2 separate regions of the Homo sapiens genome follow, and region 1 is linked to region 2. The links are contacts of gene promoters, found by promoter capture Hi-C in blood cells and fetal thymus (Javierre and others, 2016). All regions are on one chromosome and are shown on one strand. The core of a region is centred on a gene start or on the middle of the fragment in contact, and the rest is flanking DNA. Distances in the headings are between cores, read along the strand shown. Region 1 overlaps ZDHHC24 (zDHHC palmitoyltransferase 24). Region 2 holds the start of RBM4B (RNA binding motif protein 4B).

Region 1 (4,677 bases), core at 1,087-3,586, 140 kb after region 2:
GAGGAGGGTCAGTTTGGTTGCTGGGGTGAGACCGTACGAGGTGGGGCAAAGGTGGAATCGGAGACCAGTCAAGAGGCTATTGCAGTAATCCAGAGAGTTCCTAGTGACCTGGACAAAGGGGTGACCGTGGAGGAAGGGAGGGATTTGCTGCTGGATGTCAGTGGCTTGAGAGAGGTCTCAGGACTGGGGATGTTAGGGCTGGAAGAGACCTCAGACCTGTAGTGCTAGAACTAGAAGGGCCTGGGACATCTTGTTTAGCCTGCATTTACTTGTAAAGAAATTGAGGCTTAGCCAGGGCAAATGGCTGTTGCCACTTCCGCAGGATGGGCTCTGGGGCAGCCCTGTGCACAATATGGGGCATCTGAGCTGCTGGGGGAACTGACGCTGTGGTTCCTTCCTGCAGTTACTGCTACCAATGCCAAAGCCAGGTGCCGCCACGCAGCGGACACTGCTCTGCCTGCCGCGTCTGCATCCTGCGTCGGGACCACCACTGCCGCCTGCTGGGCCGCTGCGTGGGCTTCGGCAACTACCGGCCCTTCCTGTGCCTGCTGCTTCATGCCGCCGGCGTCCTGCTCCACGTCTCTGTGCTGCTGGGCCCTGCACTGTCGGCCCTGCTGCGAGCCCACACGCCCCTCCACATGGCTGCCCTCCTCCTGCTTCCCTGGCTCATGTTGCTCACAGGTGGGGAGCCTGGGAGGCCTCTGCACAGAGGCAGGGGCCCTGGTATTGGGCTGGGGAGTACAGCCCATTCTGGTGGGAGACGGGCTTTCTGGCCTGGGGGACCCAGCCCCAGTGTCAGTGATGGCCAGTAAGGGCAGCTTGGTATTCACCCGGGGGTGCAGTATGGAAACTGGTGTGTTGAGACAAGTGCAGCGTTCTGGCTGGAGAATTGGGAGATTCCTGGAGTTGTTGAGAGAGGAGAAAGACTCGTGGGAGTCTCTGCATGGCGGGATGTGGAAGTGCATTCTAGGAGCATTTCTAAGTGAGAGAAGCAATAGGAACAAAGGCTTGGAGAGTGGGCAGGGAATTGTGAGAATTAAGGCCAGATTGGTAGGGGAGGCCTGGCTGGTGGGGTCCTGAGAACTGGTGTGAGGAGATGGCTCCTATTTGACTGGACAGTGGGGAGCCAGTGAAAGTGACAGGCAGGAGAAGGCCCAGTTATGGGAAGCTGGGGAGGGCAGACTTGGATCAGCAGGCTGCCTGAGATGCCATGTTCTAGACGACACATATGTTCCTCTTCCCCCATCTACAGATAGAAGCCTCGCTGGTCCTTTTTACTCTTTGTTCTCTACCCCCAGAATGCTTTGGCCTTTCTCGCCCCCATTCCTTCCTCCTGACCTTTCCATGGTTCCCTCTGTCACTTTGATCTGTGGTTGAGGAACCTCCCCGGCTACTCCGGGTAGTCACTGTGCCTCCTCATCCTATCCAAGCCCAGCTCTGTGCATGGACCCCACCTACAGCCCAGGGGAGGCCTCGGGAAGCGGCCCACTGGGGTTATCAGAATCTTCATCTGCCCACACCAGCTTCCCAATGGGTCCTCCTCTGCCTCCCTCCAGGAGTCCCGGCCCTTCAGCCGCACTGCCCTACCACCTTGTGGTCAACACTCACTCCCCTCAGTCACGGAAGACTCTGGCTCCAGTCACAGACTCTCTCTTCGCCCTGGGCCCTGTGGAAATCAAGGGTGTCTGGAAGTTTGCATGAACAGCCCCCTCAATGCCTGGATGGCTTAGCTCTTGGCCTCCTCCTTCATTTTTCCTTCCTTTCCCTCCTCCCATGTCCACACCCCAGTCCTGGTCAGAATCCAAAAATGAGTCACCCTCACAAACCACCCATCTTCCTCTTTCTGCTGCCCACCTCCTCTTCTCTCCGTCTTTTACTCCTCCACGCCCTGGCACCTGCTCCATGAGCCTGCAGGCTCGTGGCCCTCACCGCCCGTCTGTACCTTTCCACCTTCGCCACCGACGTCCAGCTCAGAGCTCATCCTTCTCACCATTCTCCTGCCAGCATCGCAAACTTCCTCCCTCATCTTCCTTCCACAGTGCTTTCCTGGCTTCTCTGTGTCTGCCTCTGGCTGCTGAGAGCCAGAGGCATTGGCAGTCTGTGGCAGGTTGATGCCATGCCATGTTCATGGCTGCTGACCTCAGCAGGCCCTCGGCTATGCCTGGCCTTCCCGTTTGCTTGTAAGCTTGCTACTCCCAGCAACAGCAGCTCAAACCTTCCCTGCTCTCCCACACTCCAAGCTCCAGCACTGAGAAAGTGAGACATCAGCTGGCACATCCCAAATTGTGCTGTCCTCAACTCCCCGAGCCCAGCTGACTGCCCCCAGCTTCTTGTATTTGGTGCCTACCTCCCTGCTTGGAGGCCTCAGGCTGTGGCATCTGCCTCTCCTGCAGGCCAGGCCTTCTCTGCCCTCCTGGTTTGCCACCTTGGACAAACCCTCCCTTGCCCTCATATCCTCCTCCAGCGCTTGCCCTGCTCTAAGCTTCCCAAGGGACTTGCCCAGGCTCATGGCTGCTCATTCCCTGCCTGCTCCAGCCTGGCTTCTGCCACCACCACTCACTCAGGGATCTGTCTCCACACACTCCAGGACCCTTTCTTGCTTTATGAGACCTTTTAGACTCATGACACTGCTGGCCCCCAGCCCCCGTGAAGCGTTCTCCGCCTGGCATCACCGATGGCTGGGACCTTGGTGCGTTCACCTTCCTTTGTGGTTGCCCTTTCTCATCTTTTATCTGATCCCCAAGAACCGATTTCCCCGTGCTCCTGTCTAGGTGCCATTCCCCCCTCACTCTACACACTTTGGCAGGTCTAGCTGCGCCCACAGTCTCAGGGTTGCCTTGCACCCCCTACTCGCAGAACTGTTTGTCCAGCCTGGGCTTCTCCCTGTGCTTGCAGACCTGCAGACCGTCCACCTGCTTGTCTCACAAGTGCCTCTGGCCTGCCTCAGGACCTTCAAACAGAATGGTTTTTTTTTTTTTTTTGAGATGGAGTTTTGCTCTTGTTGCCCAGGCTGGAGTGCAATAGCGCGATCTCGGCTCACCACAACCTCCGCCTTCCAGGTTCAAGTGATTCTCTTGCCTCAGCCTCCCGAGTAGCTGGGATTACAGGCATGCGCCACCACGCCCGACTAATTTTTTGTATTTTTAGTACAGACGGAGTTTCTCCATGTTGGCCAGGCTGGTCTGGAACTCCTGACCTCAGGTGATCCACCTGCCTCAGCCTCCTAAATTGCTGGGATTACAGGCATGAGCCACCACACCCGGCCCATTTTAACTATTTTAAAGTGTACAATTTAGTGGCTTTTAGTACATTCATGATGTAGTGCAACCATCACCACTGTCTAATTCCAGAACATTTTCATCCTAAAAAGAAACCCCGTACCCATTAGTGGTCCCTCCATGTTCCTCCCTAATCCCCTTAGCCCCTGGCAACCACTAATCTTTCTGTCTCTGTGGACTTGCCTATTCAGGATGTTTCACATAAGTGGGATGATAAACATGTGACCTTTGGTGCCTGGCTTCTCTCACTTAGAGTAACATTTCATGGCCTCTCGTAGTCCGTTAGTTCAGCAGGTACTTGTTGCTGACTGTGGGCCAAGATGGCACAGGATACTGGCTTTTCTGTGGCGGCACACATTAAGTAACTGAGAATGGCTTTTTTTTTTTTTCTCACTCTGTCACCCAGGCTGGAGTGCAATGGCGCAATCTTGGCTCACTGCAGCCTCCACCTCCCGGGTTCAAGCGATTATCCTGCCTCAGCCTCCTGAGTAGCTGGGATTACGGGCGTGCGCAACCACACCCGGTTAATTTTTGTATTTTTAGTAGAGACGGAGTTTCACCATGTTGGTCAGGCTGGTCTGGAACTCCTGACCTCGTGATCCACCCGCCTCGGCCTCCCAAAATACTGGGATTACAGGCACGAGCCATCGCGTCCGGCCTTTTTTTTTTTTTTTTTTTTGAGATGGGAGTCTCGCTATGTTGCCCATGCTGGAGTGCAGTGGCGTGATCTCAGCTCACTGCAACCTCTGCCTCCCAGGTTAAAGCGATTCTCCTGCCTGAGCCCCCCAGCCTCCTGAGTAGCTGGGATTACAGGCGCCTGCCACCACGTCTGGCTAATTTTTGTATTTTTTAGTAGAGACGGGGTTTTACCGTGTTGTCAAGGCTGGTCTCAAATTCCTGACCTCAGGTGATCTATCTGCTTCGCCCCCCCAAAGTGCTGGGATTACAGGTGTGAGCCACCGCATCCAGCCAAGAATGGCCTCTTTAATGTCTGTGAGCTCCCCAAGGGCAGAGACACCCTCTAGTGCCTGGCACCGCCTCCAGGGCTGAGGAGGTGCTCACCAAGTCTGTGATGCAGGAATGAAGCCGTATCCCAAGTAGGGGGCTGCGTCTGCCCAGTTTACCAGTGCGTTCTTGTCACCCAGCACGGGCTGGCCAGCGAGTATCGACACAGGGTTTGCTGAGCGGAGGAATGAGCCCTGCTTTGTGGTGGAGGGGAGCAGGTGGCAGGAAAGCCGGACCCCACTGCCCCTCCCTGACCCTCTCTGCTCTTTTATTGCAGGCAGAGTGTCTCTGGCACAGTTTGCCTTGGCCTTCGTGACGGACACGTGCGTGGCGGGTGCGCTGCTGTGCGGGGCTGGGCTGCTCTTCCATGGGATGCTGCTGCTGCGGGGCCAGA
Region 2 (4,680 bases), core at 433-2,932:
TCACGCCTGTAATCCCAACACTTTGGGATGCCAAGGCCAGCGGATCGCTTGAGGTCGGGAGTTCGACACCAGCCTGGCCAACACGGTGAAACCCTGTCTCTACTAAAAATACAAAAATTAGCTGGGGGGTAGCGCACGCCTGTAGTCCCAGCTACTCGGGAGGCTGAGGCAGGAAAATGGCTTGAACGCAGGAGGTGGAGGTTGCAGTAAGCCGAGATCGCACCACTGCCCTCCAGCCTGGGCGACACAGTGAGACTCTGTCTTTAAAAAATTAAACAAAAAATAAAAATAAAATAAAATTGGAAGGACAGTGCCTCTTCTGAAATGGCTGAGAAACAAAAAGAACTCAGGTAAAGAACATATCCAAGTAGCTGGGGTGGAAGAGGGCAGCCTGGGGAATGTGTCCCAGATGGTATCAGAGAAGCCATTATGGAGCCACTAAAATGAGGAATGGTGGCTGACAACCTCCCTGGCGGGCTCTACTAGGAGATAAACCCAATCCATCAATCTCCATAAAAGGCTACTCTTTGCTGGAAGGTGACAGTGGGGAATCAGCCTAAACTTCTTTTTTTTTTTTTTTTGAGACCGAGTCTTGCTCTGTCACCCAGGCTGGAGTGCAGTGACGCCATCTCGGCTCACTGCAACCTCCGCCTCCCGGGTTCCAACGATTCTCCTGCCTCAGCCTCCCGAGTAGTTGGGATTACAGGCGCCCGCCACCACGCCGGGCTATTTTTTGTATTTTTAGTAGACACGGGGTTTCACCATGTTGGCCAAGCTGGTGTCGAACTCCTGAACTCGTGATCCGCCCGCCTTGGCCTCCCAAAGTGCTGGGATTATAGGCGTGAGCCGCCGCACCTGGCACGCCTAAGCTTGTTTTTACCGCCAGGAGGTGCCCTTGGACCACAGCTGAATTTTGAATGCTAGACAGTCGGGAAACTCAGTTGCCTAGACTTCCAGCTTGGTGTGTACGAGGAGACCCTGTCCCACCCAGAACTAGGGACCTCGCTGGGCCTCTCCACCAAGTATTCCTCTGGCGTGCTCACCACAGACCAGGACTGTGATGGACACACAATGAGTGAGAGAGAATCAGACCACGGATACTCACGAGCAAACAAAACATGACTAAGCGTAGCCTGGGTAGCAATGCCTCTTAGGCCTGTCCCAGTTCTGCCAGGTTATCTTTCTGCCCCTTGGTTCTCAGTTTCCGTAGCAATAAATAACACCTCTGCAATGACAAACTTTAAAATAATGTTTAAAGCGCTACAAAACAATGACTAGTTTTGCTTAAAATGTGGCGCACCTGTATTTTTGAAATGTTGCCCCAAGCTGCCACAGAAGCCGGCCAGCCCGCTACAAAAGCCCCTTTTTAGGGCCCTCGGGGAGATTCCTCTGTCATTAGCTCCCCGCCCCCCTCAAAGGGCCCAAGAGCAGGACCCATTGTGGTGAGCGACTCCCCAAGGCCTCCGCTTTTCTAGGCAGTGGTTGCGTTCAGAGCCCCTCTGACGCAGCAGTGGCGACCCTTTCCAGGGTGGTGACTGGCTGGCTGGGGCTGGGGGTGGGCTGACCTCCGCGGCGCCGCGCCACCACCAACAGGCCCCGCCCCCGTGCTGCGTGGTCATTTGTATGCAGCCTCGGGATTGGTCACTCGGCTCCCGCGAGGGGAAGGGGAGGGAAGCAGCGCGCACTCGCGCGTGCGTGAGCTGGCGCGCGAGAAAGGGCCCGGTCGCGTCCAGGCTCGAGCGGCCGTCGCCATTTTGTAAGGTTCTCTCTGACGTGGGAGCCGCCGTCGCTGCCGCCACCCGGAGGTGCGAGGGGGTCGTGTGTGTGTGATGTGGGGAGCTCGGGGGCGGGTCGGGCCGGGCCTCCGGCAGACTGCACGGCCCGGATTTGGGTTTCTCATTTTGCAGCGGGAGGTCTGGGAAGACAACGGGAGGAGGCGGGGCCGGGTCTCCGGAAGGAGGCGGGGCAGGGGTCGGGTCGAGTCTTTGTTGGGGCGAAGAAGCTGGAGGGTGGGCCGCTGGGGGCGAGGTGGTTGGTCCCCGGTTTGGGGGAAAGGGGACTTTTTTCTTTTTAGAGTATCTTGAAAGGCGCTAGTGCGCGCAGGAGAGGTACACAGATTTCCCTCCAAAACCTTGTTACCAGGCGCACTGCGATTGATGCCCCTTGCCTTTGCTTGGGCTTTTCTCTTCCCTCATTTTAAGACATGAAGCAGCTAATTCTGGTATTTCATTGCGCTCCACTTCACGGAGATGATAGACTGGGCTATGCATGCTGACCCTCGACCTCCTGTTTGCATGTCACGCATAGCTCGCACTTCTCGAGAACAAACCGCCCTTCTTCTATTGAGGAAGAATAATGAATGTCTGTACGAGGGTCTTGAAGGTGCAAGAACTTTGGAGGATTAGACGAAAATGCTGCAGTGCACCGAAATTTCCCACCACACCCCTGACTTTTGAAGTCTTGTGTTTCTCTCCCAGGCTCTTGTCAGGATGGTGAAGCTGTTCATCGGAAACCTTCCCCGGGAGGCTACAGAGCAGGAGATTCGCTCACTCTTCGAGCAGTATGGGAAGGTGCTGGAATGTGACATCATTAAGAATTACGGCTTTGTGCACATAGAAGACAAGACGGCAGCTGAGGATGCCATACGCAACCTGCACCATTACAAGCTTCATGGGGTGAACATCAACGTGGAAGCCAGCAAGAATAAGAGCAAAGCTTCAACCAAGTTACACGTGGGTAACATCAGCCCCACTTGTACCAACCAAGAGCTTCGAGCCAAGTTTGAGGAGTATGGTCCGGTCATCGAATGTGACATCGTGAAAGATTATGCCTTCGTACACATGGAGCGGGCAGAGGATGCAGTGGAGGCCATCAGGGGCCTTGACAACACAGAGTTTCAAGGTGAACTGCTCTGGGCCTGGGTAGTAGCGCCGAGTGGGGTCTAGCTCAAAACAGGCAAGAACACAAGACTATAGAACTTGCTGGGTGGTCTCTTCCATTCTGTTTTAGCTGGAAATAATAGATTATGTTTACCGCTCTTAAGCATAATTTACCCCTGGGGAAGCAAACACTTCCCCTTTTCAGGTTTGCTAAGATGTTGCTCACCGACTGCATAGAATCACAAACTGTGGGTTACTTTACCCTGCGGGATTCTTGCATTGATTCGAGTGCTGTTGGAAGTGTAATCTGCTTGGGGAAACGAGTACCTCATGAGAGAAGGGAGGATAAAGGTCCGTGGCTTACCTGCTTCTTTGGTGATGATCAGGAAGCCTTATATTTGAGGGTTTAAGTGCTTAAGATTTATATTCTTTACTGCTTTGGGTGGATACTGGTGGGAAAGAAGAAAAAAGACATCTAGAGGAAGCCCTATATTATAAATCTGGGTGGCAAGTCTGGATCTGCGGGAGTATCTTTTTGTTGATCAAAGTTGTGCAGTCTCTTCAAGCAGAGTCAAAAAAACATGCCATGGAGTGTTCTGCTCCACCTGTTCATTTCACCCTCAGAAAAGGAAATTTCTAAATATATCAGACTCAATGGGAATGATGGTCCCGCTTCTGAAGAAATTTCAGTACAAGCATCGTAGAGCATATCATACTATTTATACCGATAATAAAGGTACATATGTTGTCATTAATACCACAAGAGGTTGTCAGAAGACTCTAGAACTGTGCTAATATGGTAACCACATGCGGCTTAGTAAATTGAAATTAACAGATTAGATAAAATTTAAAATTCAGTTTTTCAAGTGTATACCAGACACGTTTCAAGCACTCAGTAGTCATGAGGCCTGTGGCTACCGTATTAATAGAGACACAGAACATTTCCATCATCATAGAACATTCTTTTGGATAGCACTGTTCTACAAGTGTTTTGTTAACAGTATCGTCTTGGACCTCATGTTCATAGCCACTTTTGTGGTTCCTAAGTCAACACCTTTTTTGCCCTGAGTGTCATTAAAGGGGTTGTTAAGAAGTACTTTTGGGTCTTCTATTAAAACTAAAAAACAAAATGAGAAAAATAATGGGAGAAGAGGAAAAGTTGACCAGAGAAGGGTAAGAAAGTTTGCATAGTGGAGATGGGTAGAGGAGCACCATCAAGTATCTCCAGCTTCAGCCAGTGATGCCTTGGCCTTTAGCTGCTCTTTAAAGCATAGGGCAAAGGTTGCAGATACTTCCTACCATTAACTAGTGTGTGACCTTGGACAAGTGTTTTAACATTTCTCTGCTTCATTTTCCTCACTAAGATTGTCCCCACTTATGGAGTTAATGATCCCTACTGTACCTCCCTCACAGGATTGTAGTGGGGCTAGAATGAAGAAATCGATGTGAAAGTGTTTTGATAGTAAAAGCTCTTTATGATGACAGGTGATTGCTCTTTGCAACCATGAGTGTTTCTATTCTGGTTAGAAAATTATTGAAAGTGTGATAGCGAAGCTTTCCTTATTGGTTTGCTTTTCTTACATTTGTTTTTCTTTTTCTTATTTTGGAATGTTGTTGCATTTTCAGCTTTTAAAAGTATCTTAATTATTTTCATTTGATGGGGGAAATCATCATGATGGACAGTGGAGACTGGGGAAGGAGGGTTTTCTCCTGACAGGTAATGAGCAAAATGTAAAAGAATGTAAAGTTGGGTACAAACTGCAGAGGTATTCTAGTAATGTCATACAGAATGCCCTTACCT

What was found. Contacts are between HindIII fragments. The CHiCAGO score rates a contact against its expected background, and 5 or more counts as called.
Region 1: a fragment that was not itself captured here is called in contact with the fragment with the promoter of RBM4B in region 2 in 12 of 17 cell types (naive B cells, total B cells, total CD8 T cells and 9 more); the score reaches 16.4 in naive B cells.

The regions. Positions count from the first base shown.
Region 1 is chr11:66,539,708-66,544,384 of GRCh38, reverse strand. It overlaps ZDHHC24 (zDHHC palmitoyltransferase 24), which reads left to right. Exons shown (of 3, transcript NM_207340.3): 2 at 404-681; 3 at 4,561-4,677. Among named protein-coding and RNA genes, the nearest start is that of ZDHHC24, 4.0 kb to the left of the region's middle. RefSeq lists an enhancer at 4,015-4,677. The HindIII fragment of the contact is 297 bases long and covers 2,188-2,484 here.
Region 2 is chr11:66,674,889-66,679,568 of GRCh38, reverse strand. RBM4B (RNA binding motif protein 4B) reads left to right here and starts at 1,682. Exons shown (of 4, transcript NM_031492.4): 1 at 1,682-1,805; 2 at 2,478-2,901. The coding sequence starts at 2,490. RefSeq lists silencers at 1,480-1,759, 1,960-2,069. The HindIII fragment of the contact is 1,797 bases long and covers 872-2,668 here.